Regions from separate parts of the Homo sapiens genome. Here regions 1, 2 and 4 are each linked to region 3. Evidence: promoter capture Hi-C in 16 types of primary human blood cells and fetal thymus (Javierre and others, 2016). All regions are on one chromosome and are shown on one strand. The core of a region is centred on a gene start or on the middle of the fragment in contact, and the rest is flanking DNA. Distances in the headings are between cores, read along the strand shown.

What was found. The method cuts DNA at HindIII sites, captures the fragments that hold promoters and counts their contacts. A CHiCAGO score of 5 or more calls a contact.
Region 1: a fragment that was not itself captured here is called in contact with the fragment with the promoter of HINFP in region 3 in 9 of 17 cell types (endothelial precursors, fetal thymus, naive CD4 T cells and 6 more); the score reaches 7.4 in endothelial precursors.
Region 2: a contact is called between the fragment with the promoter of MCAM here and the fragment with the promoter of HINFP in region 3, in 13 of 17 cell types (naive CD4 T cells, fetal thymus, endothelial precursors and 10 more). The highest score is 12.4, in naive CD4 T cells.
Region 4: the fragment with the promoter of RNF26 here is called in contact with the fragment with the promoter of HINFP in region 3 in 7 of 17 cell types (naive CD4 T cells, fetal thymus, endothelial precursors and 4 more); the score reaches 8.3 in naive CD4 T cells.

The regions. Positions count from the first base shown.
Region 1 is chr11:119,297,975-119,301,515 of GRCh38, forward strand. CBL (Cbl proto-oncogene) reads left to right here. Exons shown (of 16, transcript NM_005188.4): 15 at 384-566; 16 at 1,521-3,541. The coding sequence ends at 1,807. Among named protein-coding and RNA genes, the nearest start is that of MIR6756, 13 kb to the right of the region's middle. The HindIII fragment of the contact is 1,156 bases long and covers 1,714-2,869 here.
Region 2 is chr11:119,315,792-119,319,142 of GRCh38, forward strand. It overlaps MCAM (melanoma cell adhesion molecule), which reads right to left and starts at 1,339. Exons shown (of 16, transcript NM_006500.3): 1 at 1,244-1,339. The coding sequence starts at 1,310. RefSeq lists enhancers at 1-25, 2,919-2,968 and a silencer at 1,618-1,677. The HindIII fragment of the contact is 17,882 bases long and covers 1-3,351 here.
Region 3 is chr11:119,119,644-119,123,300 of GRCh38, forward strand. HINFP (histone H4 transcription factor) reads left to right here and starts at 1,937. Exons shown (of 10, transcript NM_198971.3): 1 at 1,937-1,996. RefSeq lists a silencer at 1,671-1,950. The HindIII fragment of the contact is 5,005 bases long and covers 1-2,769 here.
Region 4 is chr11:119,332,718-119,336,358 of GRCh38, forward strand. RNF26 (ring finger protein 26) reads left to right here and starts at 1,810. Exons shown (of 1, transcript NM_032015.5): 1 at 1,810-3,641. The coding sequence starts at 2,406. RefSeq lists an enhancer at 1,452-2,343. The HindIII fragment of the contact is 9,565 bases long and covers 1-3,641 here.

The DNA of each region.
Region 1 (3,541 bases), core at 1,042-3,541, 180 kb after region 3:
TTCCCATGTTAACTAGCCTACCAGATTGAAAGTTCAAGAAGCCTGCTCTCACAGGATCCTTTGCTGATCTTCCAAGGTGGAATGTGGATAGAAATGTTTATTGAATGATCTGAGATGACACTGGAGTCATTGGCATCGGTGGCTATTAACCTTGTCAAGAATAACCTTTGGCATGTTCAAAAATGAAAGCTGCAGTGTTGGTGCAGATTTTATTTTCTATTTTTATCTCTGTTTACATGGTGTTTGGCCCACAGTAGACAATCAGTAACTGTTGAATGAGATAAATGATTGCATACATGTAAAAATGAATGGCTGCCCCGTATTGAAATGTATTAGAAGATGAAGTGCGTCAGAAGAAGATAACATCACTCATTTTTCTCCAGGTGAAGGGAATTTGGCCGCAGCCCATGCCAACACTGGTCCCGAGGAGTCAGAAAATGAGGATGATGGGTATGATGTCCCAAAGCCACCTGTGCCGGCCGTGCTGGCCCGCCGAACTCTCTCAGATATCTCTAATGCCAGCTCCTCCTTTGGCTGGTTGTCTCTGGATGGTGATCCTACAACAAGTGAGTCTCCAGACTACTTTGGGTTTGTCCTGAATGGCAGTGTGGCCTGTATGTTTATATTGAAAGGGAGATGACCTTCTCTGGTGACAGTAAGTCAGTATGTAGGCTAAACATTATGTCTAAATGGGAGGAAAGTCCCAAGTTAGGAAGTTAGACTGTAGTCAGACTCTTTAGGATTTTTGCAGACTTAGAAAAGAGGTCATTCCTTAAACTCTGGCTCTTCTTATGTTAGGGGTAGGTAGGATTTATAGTTTCTCTGAGTATGCCTTATGACACTGGTAATTAGGCTTGATGGCTCAGAGCACACATTCCTTTTTCCTGGGCTCTGTTCCATTGGAAAGAAGGCATGCTAGCTCTGGAACACACACTGAATGGGCCTGGAGCCAGCCCATGTTGGGCCTTGACTACTGGAGGCTGCTCTTCTTGCACCTGTGGCTGCCTGGTAGGGCAGCAGCCAGAGTTGCTGTCACTTTGGAATTGAAGACAGCCTTCAGGACAGACAGCTGGTGAAAAAGAATACAGCCTTCGCTTGCCCAGACGAGCAATGTCCCCCACTCAGCCTTGGCTAATGCTTCTTCATTGCAACTTATATCTGTCTTTTTCCTTATTTGTAGAAGGCGAAGTTTAGTATCTTTGGTCCCCTCAGAATTAAAACAGACAATTACATGTGCACAAACATGTTGCTTAGTGTAAAGCATGATGCAGATGTTTATGATTGCAGTGGTTATTGTTCATAGGACAGGTGCATGGTATATTTAGAAGGTTGTTTTTATTGTGATGAGGAGGCTATATCTTAAAACCCTTGAACCTGTAAAACCCAGCCTTGTGACTGAAGAGCACATGTACCCAGTTTACAGGAAGTCAGTAATATCTTGATATTAGCACATTTTTATTGCTGTTGTTAAATGAGGATTTCCCCAGATTTGCAAATATTTTCTTTCCTATTTCTTCTAGATGTCACTGAAGGTTCCCAAGTTCCCGAGAGGCCTCCAAAACCATTCCCGCGGAGAATCAACTCTGAACGGAAAGCTGGCAGCTGTCAGCAAGGTAGTGGTCCTGCCGCCTCTGCTGCCACCGCCTCACCTCAGCTCTCCAGTGAGATCGAGAACCTCATGAGTCAGGGGTACTCCTACCAGGACATCCAGAAAGCTTTGGTCATTGCCCAGAACAACATCGAGATGGCCAAAAACATCCTCCGGGAATTTGTTTCCATTTCTTCTCCTGCCCATGTAGCTACCTAGCACACCATCTCCCTGCTGCAGGTTTAGAGGACCAGTGAGTTGGGAGTTATTACTCAAGTGGCACCTAGAAGGGCAGGAGTTCCTTTGGTGACTTCACAGTGAAGTCTTGCCCTCTCTGTGGGATATCACATCAGTGGTTCCAAGATTTCAAAGTGGTGAAATGAAAATGGAGCAGCTAGTATGTTTTATTATTTTATGGGTCTTGAGTGCATTTGAAGGTGTCCTTCAGTTCCCACGTAGAGAGAGTGTGGATTATATTACATGATAACCTACCTGGGGAACAGTCCAGAAAGCTATAGAACAAGTATTTTGCTGGAAATCCTAATTGAGGACTTAAGACTTCCTGGGTTAAGGATGTGGCCGTGTGTGTGTGTGTCTGCCTGTGGTTGTATGTGTCCTTGTGATTATAAGATTAACCTGCTGTGTGTGTTAATTCCAGGCAGGGAATTAGCACAAAAGGTTTAGGAAGGAATCTTTTTTTAAAGACTTCCATCTACTGTGGTATTATACCCAAGCCTAGTGTGTATTACAACTTCAACACTCCCCTTTGGCTTATATTACCATGTGCATAGCTAAAGTCTTCTATTTTTAGAACACCTTCTGTCTGTTCTTTCCCCATCAACTCCTTCCTCATCCTTCTTGGTGTTCTGTCATGGGCCATGGGCTTGCTATGGCCAGCCTTACTGAGGCCAAGCAGCTTATGGGATGTTCTTTATTGTGTGTGATGGTATTGGTTTGTTTGGTAGATAAGTGGGAGGAAAAGTACTGTTGCTACACTATTATAGGCATGTTTGATACTAGCAGCTAACACTGGTCACTCCAAAGCACTGTTTCTATAGGAACATTGAAGCTATTAAGATGTTTTGATTATCCTAATTACATAATGACCGATTTGAGATAGAGGCCTTTAAATACATTCCATGCCCTCCCCAGAAAATAGTCTGTGGGAGTCAGTTGCCTTGGTGCCAGGTATGTGTTCTGATGTAGGTCATGAGTCTTTCTACTTAATGGGAAGGGAAGAACATTTGTTTCCAGGATGACTTTCTGGCCAGAATACCGGAAAGCTTTTAGGAAGCTTCGTTCACATGCTATTTAAATGCACAAAATAGACAGTAAGGATTTATCTGTTCAGTTTTTCTTCCCAGTGAATTAATTTCAGCTTATATGGGTGTCTTCATTTGAACATGAGGAATATTAGGTTATATTTTCAGCAGTGGTTTTTTCCTTTGCCCTTTAAGGAGTGGGGATAATGTCCACGGTGGCCCAGCCTCTTGCTGATGGCACCTTCCCTGCATTGCTGCCTCCCGATGATGTGGTTCTTTTCTTGTGCCTGTGGCTTTGGGAATGTAACATCTCTTTCCTCCTTTCCTTCCCTTTTCCTCTTCACCTGAGGTCCTAAATACTCTCTGTAATTACTGTGTTCTTCACGGTAATTAGACATCATTCAGTGAATAAATTACTGTAGTCAAAGACAGTATGGGCTGGCAGTTTGTGTAATTGCAAGTTCATAAAGAGAATTGAGGGTCCAGTTGGGAGAACTATTAGTCAGTTCTTTTATATGCTGATAAATGATCCCTCGAGTTCAGTTAGTATTCTGTCCAGAGTGTTTAGCTCACTTTCTTAGCAGTGTGTAAGCTTTCTCCATGTCAGAAGCAAGCCTGCTCTTTGATAAATCTGTCTTCCTGAAAATCTAAATCATGCTTTTGTCTTTAGATCTACACAGAAATGACCCTC
Region 2 (3,351 bases), core at 89-2,588, 200 kb after region 3:
CGCACACACCCGCGGACCCCACCCTAGGTAGCTGGTAAGGATGGAGAGGTCAGAGTCTCCCCCAGGGGTCAGGGCAAGGGCCAGGCAGTGGGCAGGAGTGACGTCAGTGGTGCCAGCGTGCTGCCAGCCCTGTGAGGAGGTGATGTCACTCGACACCATCTGCCTGGGCTCTGGGATGCCTGGGTTGTTACCTTGGCTCTCGGACAAGGAGGGCAGGTGGAAGGTGGGGTCTCCAACCCAGAGCCTCAGACCCCTGACTCCTCCCAGAGCTAGAAGAGCAGGGCAGGGTGGAGCTGGACCGGCTGCAACTGTGGAGCCCGATTTAGCCCTTTCCCCAGAAATAAAGTCAGCCTGGGAGGCAGTAGCCTGGAATACCCCAGGGACATGGTTGGCACTGGGCATGAGGCCAGCGAGCTGGGTATTGCCTAGCCCTCCCCTTCCCCAGCCGGACAGCGGCTGGGACGGCGGAATGGGAGCCAAGAGAAACACGCGACACCGCTGCGGGCCATACAAGGGCAGCGTGGACCCGAGAGCGCCCTGCTACCAGGCGGATCCGGAGAAACGCTCCGAGGTGCCCGGGCGCACTTCCCACCTGAATGTGGTCCCCAAAATAAGCCAGCGGGCGCTTCCAGTATGGGAATCCTCCATCCCTCATCTCTGTCCCCTATGATCCCATCACTCGGGGAGGCGCGAGGCGACCCACACCGCCCCGCAACCCCTGCCAACGCCCAGCTCGGGCGGGAGCCGCCGAACCTCCCGCTCTCGCTCACCTCCAGCCTGGCGTGATGCCCAGGCAGAAGGGGGAAGGGGTGGGTCGGCGCACCCCCTCCAGCGAAGGAAGCTGCCTTTTCCAGCAACAGGCGGGCGCGGAATTCAGGCTTTGAGGATGCGCCCCAGCTGCGCCTCCTGCCCGGCTTCAATTGCGGGCCCCCAGAGTGAGCACCTCAGGGACCACCCACCCCCCAGCACCCCGAAAGGCTGAGCTCCACCCCTTCTCGTTCCCAGAAGCAGCCTCCTCCCCGCCTTCCGAGTGCTGCTCCCGGGATACTCTAGAATCCCGGCTGCAAACTGGCTGCAAAGAAGAGTTGCTCGCGCGCAAGGCGCCCGGGGATCGGGGACCCAGGGAGGAGGCTCGTCCTCCCAGACGCAACGCCCCGACCCCGCCGCGCCGCTGGCTCTGCTCCCTGGCACGCTCCACCGCAGACCCCTAGCCGGGGCGCGGCCCCCCTGCGAGCGAACTCACCCGCGACGCGAGGACAGCAGCAGCAGGCGGCGAGCAAGAAGGCGCAGACCAGCCTGGGAAGCCCCATGCTTCCCGGCCGGAGGGCGAGAGCCAAGTGAGCAGCTCGAGGCTGCCGGGGGCTGACGTCAGGGGGGCGGGGGAGGGGGCCCGGAGCGCCCGGGCCCGCCCCGCCCCGCGCAGCCCCCAGCCCCCGCCCCGCGCGCCGCAGCCCTAGGGGGCGGGCCCCGGCGCCGCCAGCCCGGGAGCTGCGCCTAGGAGCGCTGCCGGAGGTAGGCCAGAGCCGGACTCCCAGGCTCCTGGCTTGGGAAGGCTGAGGGGGTAGTGACAGGTGTCTCGGGGTCTGACTGGCCGAGGTGGCAGCGAGGAGAAGCTGTCCCGGATGCCCGGAGTCGCCCCGGGTCGAAGCCAGCCAGGCTCACCGCTGCTCAGCCCCTGCCAGCCAATGTAGCCCCTAGGGGACCTCCTGGGGGAGGAGCAGTAGCGGACCTGGTCCTCGGTGTCCCCAAGGGGCCTCCCACTTGGGCTCCCCTCCCTTGCCACAGAGAATTCAGGCCGGCCTCTATCGCTTCCCAGAACGATTGCACCACTGCCGCTGCCGCCGGCCTGACACTGCCTCAGCCTCAGTGCTGGCAGCTTTGGGAGAAGAACCCTGCGCCAGTCCCACAGACCCAGAAGTACCTGTATGGGGAGTGCAGACGATGCCTTCTGGGCTGTCCCTTCAAACGCAAGCTCCTGCAAGTCTAGCCTTTGACCAGAGAAAGGAAGGAGGGGGCTGAATTCGCAGGCCCAAGGTGTTCACACTTGTCCAGACCTGGGCCTTGAGAATCATGTTTCTTCCCTCTTCACTCTGGAGCCTACCCTGGAACTCAGTTTCCCCTCACCTAAGAGAAAGAAACAGGGAGAAGAAAGAGTTAATGGGCGAGGGTCCCCAGCCTGACCCTGCAAACCTGTTGCTGTTCCTGATGATTGAAAGGATCCCGGCAGCGCTGATCTTCCCCCACCCCATGTCTTCCCCAGCCCTATTGATTGTGGGTCCATAGCTGAGGGAAGAATCAAATCAGACCTGCTTGGGTGGGGAGCTCTGCAGCTCCCCTTCTCCCAAAACGCCGGCTTCTCCCTGGGTCTTCTGGCCTCTTGAACTAAGGCTCTAGGGAGGGGGAGGTGCTCTTGCCTCACTCTGACCCCAGCAGCCTGGCCTCAGAAAAGGGGTCCACATCTGCTGGCGCGCCTCCACCAGGGAGTGCCAAATAGGGGCCTGGATTTGGGTAGAGGTCTGTTGCCCAGCGGGGCCACCCCTTTGCTCGCTGGGGGAGGTGGAGGGTGAGCCAGCAAACCCTGGAGATGGCCAGGTGACTTGAGAGCATGCTCCGGGGTGGCGTTTTGATGACGCAGAGATGACTGGAAAACCACACCAGGCTTGTCTTTCAGAGCCTTCTCGACCCCTCCTCCAATGCCATTAGTCTCCAGCCAGAGGCTGTGCAGAGCCCAGGCCCACCGGGCCAGGGGCCTGGAGCCTGGAGCCTGCAGGGAGAACAAGAGGAGGACGCTGGCTCGCCCTCCAGAGTGAATGTATGGACTGGCCCCAGGCCCAGAGCTGACTAGATGAGAATGTTTTGTCTGCTGGGCTGGAGTGGGAATGGCTGAAGGATGCCGTTTGCCCTGGCAGGCCCGGCTGGGCATGGAGCTGGCTTCCCTGCCCAACCCCCTTCCTTCACTTAACACCATTAACTAATCATTCGCCTCTCTGGCCTGAAAACAAAGCCAGCTAACCACCAAGGACAGTCAGTTCTGAATTCTTCTTCCGCTGGAGGAGAGTGAAGCCAGGTGGGGGTGGAGGATTTGTCTCTGCGGTGAAAGGGAAATGAGGTCAGAGCCTAGAGCCCAGGGTGACGTCCCTTCGCATTGCCCCACCAAACAAGCACAGAAGACTGTCCTTTAAGGAAGCCAGTAGCCTGGGGCTGTCTAGGCTGCTCGGAAGTGGGTCATAGCCTCAGGGGACAGATAGCTTTGGGATGGTTTCATGAGGTGGGCACTTTGGGATTCCAAACTAAAGACGGGTCAGGACCTCGGAAAGGACGCAGGAGTGGAGGCAGGGAGCAGGGTGGAGG
Region 3 (3,657 bases), core at 687-3,186:
TTTCGCCATGTTGGCCAGGCTGGTTTCGAATTCCTGACCTCATGATCCGCCCGCCTCGGCCTCCCAAAGTGCTGGGATTACAGGCATGAGCCACCGCGCCCTGCAAAACCCTATTTTAAAATAGGGACCAAGTTATAACTCACTGTTGTTAAAACCAAAATTTATGCACAAGTATGACTTTACTATCTTAATGGCATTTTAAATTTTATTTTATATATATTGAACATTTAATGTGTTTTCTGATTGTACAAATTATATAGGTTTATTTTTAGATTAGAAGATACAGAAAACTACAATGCAATAAAATATCAGTCTTAACCAACTTTATTAAGGTATATTATTTAACAAGTATGTCTTGAACCCTTACTGAGTTTCAGCCACTGGGCTAAGTGAGTGATGGGTTTTTTGTTTTATTTTGTTTTTTGTTTTGTTTTGAGACAGAGTCTTGCTCTGTTGCCCAGGCTGGTGTGCAGTGGTGCCATCTCAGCTCACTGCAACCTGTGCCTCCTGGGTTCAAGCGATTCTCCTGCCTCAGCCTCCCGAGTAGCTGAGATTATAGGCGCCCGCCACGATGCCCAGCTAGTTTTTGTATTTTTAGTAGAGACGGGGTTTCCCCATGTTGGCCAGGCTGGTCTTGAGCTCCTGACCTCATGTGATCCACTCGCCTCGGCCTCCCAAAGTGCTGGGATCACAGGCGTGAGCCACGACACCCGGCCCACTGATGGAGTTATAAAGGTGAAGAACTAGTCTAGTGAAGAATGCAGACTGAGAGTAAACAGACAAATACAATGTGACTGAGCTGTATTGTTAAATACAAGAAAGGACTATCAGGAAGACTTTTTGGAAAAAGAAGCATCTACACTGAGACCATAAAAATTAGTAGGAGTCAGTCAAATAAATGTGGGAGGAGGAGAAAGGGATTATTCCAGGTAAAGAAAACAAGTTCAAGGCTTGAGAGGTAAAAGGTGGCTTGGTGTGGTGGAAAAGGTGAAAGAAATTTGCGACTGGAGAGCAAGAAATATGGTCGAGAAGGACTAAAAAAAAGTAGACAGGGAGAGCCCAGATGCTGAAGGGTCTAGAAAACCTCAGTATGGTTTTGGAGCTTTGCCCTGAAAGCAATAGAATGCCTTTGAATTGTCTGAAGCAGATGGTAACTTGATCAGGTCTGCTTTTTGCAAAGTGGAGAATGCTTTGGAAGGAAGCAAGTGTGCACGCAGCGGGACCCATTAGACTAATGTATAAATCCTGCCTGGAGGTCATCACTGGACAGGGGAGGTGGGGGAGGCGGTGAAGATAAACAAAAGGGGATAAATTTGAAATATCCTGTTTTAAAAGGAGGTAGAATCCACAGAACTTGGCAATGGATTGGATGTGAGAAGTGAGAGGAATCAGTGATGACTGCCAGCTTTCTGACCTGAACGAGTGGATGAAGGGAAGCCGAGTTTTGGGGGGAAAGAGAAACATATAATACCAACATTTAAAACATAATAAGACTAAGAGGCTGAAGGAAAGGGTAGAACCTTCAATCTGAGCCGAGCGGGGCCGACAGCGCTGGGCAGCATCCCACGCCTTTTTCTCCGCGAGGCCCACGCAACCAGCCAACTAAAGCGAAGAACCACGTGAGGGAGACCCCACTGCGCACCAGGCGCGAGCCCTGCGCATGCCCGTTGGGTCCCGGAGGCCGAGCCTGCGCAGTTAGGGGAACTCAGGCCCATAGGCTCCCCGCCTTTGCGTTGCCCTGAGCAGCGAGGCGCGGTCACGTGCTACCTTTTGCACGTATCCTGTCGCCCCTCTGTCCGCCCGGGACGCCTAGCCCCACCCACTGTTCCCGCCCCTTCCGTGTTTTGGTGCGCACGGGTTCCGCCAGACACAGCTACCATTGGCTGTCAGTCGGATCCGAGAACGACGATTGGCTTTCCTTGACCGTCCCTCAAGCGCCTCTCCGGAGATGGTCTGAGGTGGGAGAAGAGCTGAAGAGACCTGGAGCCGACAGACGGTAAGCTGGGGTATGTGCTCTGCAGGGGCTGCAGGAGGCCAAGCTCTTCCCGAGCCACCTCGGCGAGTATTCTTGCCGCTTGGCCACGCTGGTCTGCCCTGGTCCGGTCCCCTCACCCCGACTGGAACCTCCCTGCTTTCTAGTCTAGGGGCTTCGCTGCGGCTGAGACTCGGTCGCCGCCACGCCTTAGCGTGAAGGATTCCGGGAAGCCTGCGGGACTGCGAGTGGAGAGGTTTTGCCCAACGGGACGGTCTCCTTCCTTCTGTCCAAATTCTACCTGTCCTTCGAGGCGTGGTGCGGGCCCCACTGCTTAGGGGAGACTTCCTTTTCGCCTGACCGCGGAGGTGTCTCTCTGTCCTGGTCTCCCTCATCGGGTACTTTGTTTCGGTCGTTGTCTTCACGTATCAGTCTTATCTTTTTGGCCAAATTATGAGTTCTTAGGCGTTTAGGACCCTTTTTTTCTTGAATACCACAGTTCATTCATTGTCTTGCGTTACAGTATATGCCCTCTTAAGTGTTAAGAGGGTAGAGTGAAGATCATGCCCCTATCTCCTCAGAGTAGAAACAAGAGACACAGAAAGAGAAATTAAAGAAGACAGGAGGACAGTCAGAGAGCGTCAGGGAGTTTTGCCTAGGTTTCAGATCATTCTGTATCGCCAGCTAGCTTGCCTCCTTGGACTTACCCACCAGTCTAACAGCAGGTGTATGTTTAGAATATTTGTGCTCGGCACAGTGTAGGGACACGGGCAGGTGTGATATGGTTTCTGCTCAGAAGCTTCTTATAGTCCAATTGGGTAAACGAGACTAGAACACATAAAACGACCATGGCAACATGAAAATAGGGTTGAAGTTTTATGGTGTCAGCTGTGCCAGCCATAGAACTAAGGAGCAAGAGTAGATTCAGGGATGGGGTAGTTTAGGAAGGCTTCCCGGAATGTGATTATCTCCTGATATTTATTGAGTACCTGGGGTGTGCAAAGCTCTGTGCTGAATCTGAGAATGAGAAGTGAATAAGTGATGGCCACTGTCCTGAGAAACTCCTAGTCTAGGGGAAACAAGTTTCATTGCATTGATAGCAAAGATGTGTGTGGATGCCGTGGGCAAGAGATGGGATATGCCAGCTGTACCTGGATGAATTGGGAAGGGGGTCATCAAAGAGAAGACTTTGGGGTTTGAAAGGCGAATAGAAGTTGCATAGGTAGGCCTGTCGCGGTGGCTCACACCTGTAATCCCAGCACTTTGTGAGGCCGAGGCGGGCGGATCACTTGAGGTCAGGAGTTTGGGACCAGCCTGACCAACATGGCAAGACCTCGTCTCTACTAATACTACAAAAATTAGCTGGGCGTGGTGGTGCGTGCTTATAGTCCCAGCTATAATACTTCGGAGGCTAAGTCACGAGAATCGCTTGAACCTGGGAGGCGGAGGTTGCAGTGAGCCCAGATCACAGCACTGCACTCCAGCCTGGGCGACAGAGCAAGACTCCATCTCCAAAAAAAAAAAAAAAAAAAAAAAGAACTTGCGTAGGCAGAGAGTTTTAGGAGAATGTAGAGTATTCAGAGACAAAGATGATTGAATCAGAGGAAGAGGGAATGAAGTATGGGTGAGGAAGCCAGAGAACAGCATCATGTGGGAGAAAGAGCATGATCTTTGGATTGGAATGA
Region 4 (3,641 bases), core at 560-3,059, 210 kb after region 3:
TGCCAACTCTGAGAAGGACTTTACATGCTTCTTGGTGTGGAAAACTGGCCAGTTAATTGCACGCAGTGCAGGCACAGCACGTTTGCCAAGTTTGACTTTGGACATATTGTGTAGGAAGCACCAGTGGGATACCCATGAACCGTTCATGTCCAGGAAGCAGCTGGAGCCTGAAGTTTGCAGGACAGGTTCAGGCTGAAGACACAAATTCAGAAATCATCGTGTATACAGGAGAGGAGGCTATGATGGAAACAGAAAGAATATAGGAAAGGGTAATGATTCTGAGGCCAAGGGTGGAGGAAGTGGTGTCAAGTGCTGGAGGAAGATTGATTAATAACAACATAGTGTTCACTGGACAAATAAGATCCCTTAAGAGGAGATGGTACGGGCGATGGGATCAACTGTCTTGAAAGGGAGGTGGGCACATTCTCCAAGATTTGACACTGGCGGGAGGATGCGAGTAGGAAAATAAAAACATCAGCAACACATCACAACACAACAAACCATAACCTGGCCAGGGCCTGAGAGCAGGGAGAGAGAAAGGGTAGGAAGAAGCCAGAGGAGTTTCAGCGACTGCAGTCCTTCCTCTGCACTATAGCGTACCCCTACCACGATCCCAAGGCCTCAGTAAAGGTTTGCTGCACACCTCAGCTTCTTATCAGTGATGCTTTGGAGAATGAAGGACTCTGAGGCAGTGTTCAGGGCAGACTGAAGGAGGACGGACACTTTCAGGAGCCCAGGAGTGGAGATGGAGAATTCAACTCAAGTAGGAAATTCAGCAAAGGTGACCAGGGGAAAGATAAGTCCACTAGGAGTCTGCTAAGCATCCTTGGAGTTAGTAGAAAACGCCAGGATTCCCAATATATTTGGGATGGGGTTTCAAATATATTTTGACTATTGTTTGAGTATTAAAGAAAAGGGCAGGGCCGGGCTTGGTGGCTCACGCCTGTAATCTCAGCACTTTGGGAGGCCGAGGCGGGTGGATCACGAGGTTCAGGAGTTCGAGGCCAGCCTGGCCAACATGGTGAAACCTCGTCTCTACTAAAAATACAAAAATTAGCCGGGTGAGGTGGTGGGCACCTGTACTACCCGGGAGGCTGAGGCAGGAGAATCGCTTGAACCCGGGAGGCAGAGGTTGCAGTGAGCCGAGATCGCGCCACTGCACTCTAGGGTAGGAAGGCCCAGGGTAGGAAGCTGAGCGGTTTCTAAATCTGTAGCCCCTTTTTCTCAATGACAATGAAGTAATCTTCCGAGATGTTGAAAAACCTGGTGAGGAAAGTTTGGAATAGCAGTTTGGGAATCCCCTGTAATAATCTGCTTTCCCTTGTGAACAGCAGGCACTGTCTTAAAATTTTTTTGTATCCTCAATGCACTGTAGGAGTTCAATAAATGATAGAATAGATGAATAAATAGAAGAGAATGAGGAGACGGATCTGGGCAGGCTGCGAAGGCGGTGCTATTCCAAAGCCCAGCCCAGAGGCAGTGACCTCCGACCCAAGCCAAAAAAAAAACCTCGCGTTCAGAGGCCGGGAGAAAGAACAGCTCCCAAATTGAGGGGAGTCCAAGACCCTGCTCTTTTAGAGGGTGGGGCTAGGAGAGCGTATTTCGACGCTGCCCGCCAACGAACCAATCCCCGCCTAAAGGGGGAGGGGATTTAATCTGTCGCCTCTCCTTCCCTTTGGAAAGTAAATACGTTCGGGCGCCATTCAAACGGACCAATGAGTGATCGACGTTTTTGTGGTTGGCCTTCACCGATTGGCTGGAGTTTGTCGTCCCTCCCTCCTCGTCACGCCTCTGGCTCCACCCCTTTGCACACAAGATGGCGGCGCCCAGCGGAGTAGGGGCTGCGCTTGGGGTTTGCTGAAGCTGGCTGCCTCTCCCACTCCCCTTTTGGGTGCAAAGCGCCGCTAGCGGGAAGACGGGGGCCGGGCGGGGACAGGGGCACCTGCGTAGCTGGACTGAGAGCCTGCGCCCAGCTTACATCGACCCCACCCGGCCCCGGCCCGACCCGACGCGACCCGATCCGATCCGATCCCATTCCATCCGTTCCTCGTCTCCTCCCGGTCTGACCCGTTGCCCGGCCGTGGTTCGCCACACCAGGCATCCAAAGCTGAGGTCGCTCCTACGGCCTGGGCTCGCCTTCGCTTTAGAGATGTTTGGCCTCTTCCCTCCCAAACAGCCCATCTTCAAAACCTGGACTCTTGGACTGGCACCTGGCCACCTTTCCCTCTACCAAGACTCCACTTCCGTCTTACCCACTTCTTCCTCAGATTCTTGGTACCCCCTGGGTTGGAGACTGCTCATTTTCCTTCCAAATTAATCCCAGACCCCCTAAAATATTGACAACCTTGACAACCCCCCAACCGAGGAGCCAGACTTTGTTTTGGACTAACTTCCATAGCCCTATCATGGAGGCAGTGTACCTGGTAGTGAATGGGTTGGGCCTGGTGCTGGACGTGCTGACCTTGGTGTTGGACCTCAACTTCCTGCTGGTGTCCTCCCTCCTGGCTTCCCTGGCCTGGCTCCTGGCCTTCGTCTACAACCTGCCGCACACGGTACTGACTAGTCTTCTGCACTTGGGCCGCGGAGTCTTGCTTTCATTGCTGGCCTTGATCGAAGCCGTGGTCCGGTTCACATGTGGGGGCTTGCAGGCCTTGTGTACTCTGCTGTATAGCTGCTGCTCTGGCCTAGAGAGCCTAAAGCTCCTGGGGCACCTGGCCTCTCATGGGGCACTGCGGAGCAGGGAGATACTGCACCGGGGCGTCCTCAATGTGGTCTCCAGTGGCCATGCTTTGCTGCGCCAGGCCTGTGACATCTGTGCCATTGCCATGAGCCTGGTGGCTTATGTGATCAACAGCCTGGTCAACATCTGCCTCATCGGCACTCAGAACCTCTTTTCCCTGGTGCTGGCCCTGTGGGATGCAGTGACCGGGCCTCTGTGGAGGATGACGGACGTAGTGGCTGCCTTCCTAGCCCACATTTCCAGCAGTGCTGTGGCCATGGCCATCCTCCTTTGGACACCCTGCCAACTAGCCCTGGAGCTGCTGGCCTCAGCTGCCCGCCTCCTGGCCAGCTTTGTGCTTGTCAATCTCACTGGCTTGGTGTTGCTAGCTTGTGTGCTGGCAGTGACGGTGACTGTGTTGCATCCGGACTTCACCCTGAGGCTGGCTACCCAGGCACTCAGCCAGCTCCATGCCCGGCCATCCTACCACCGTCTTCGAGAGGATGTCATGCGGCTCTCTCGCCTAGCACTGGGCTCAGAGGCCTGGCGCCGAGTCTGGAGCCGCAGTCTGCAGCTGGCGAGTTGGCCAAACCGGGGAGGGGCACCTGGAGCTCCCCAGGGTGACCCTATGAGGGTATTCTCAGTTAGGACCCGGAGACAGGACACTCTTCCTGAAGCGGGGCGCAGATCAGAGGCAGAAGAGGAGGAGGCCAGGACCATCAGAGTGACACCTGTCAGGGGCCGAGAGAGGCTCAATGAGGAGGAGCCTCCAGGTGGGCAAGACCCTTGGAAATTGCTGAAGGAGCAAGAGGAGCGGAAGAAGTGTGTCATCTGCCAGGACCAGAGCAAGACAGTGTTGCTCCTGCCCTGCCGGCATCTGTGCCTGTGCCAGGCCTGCACTGAAATCCTGATGCGCCACCCC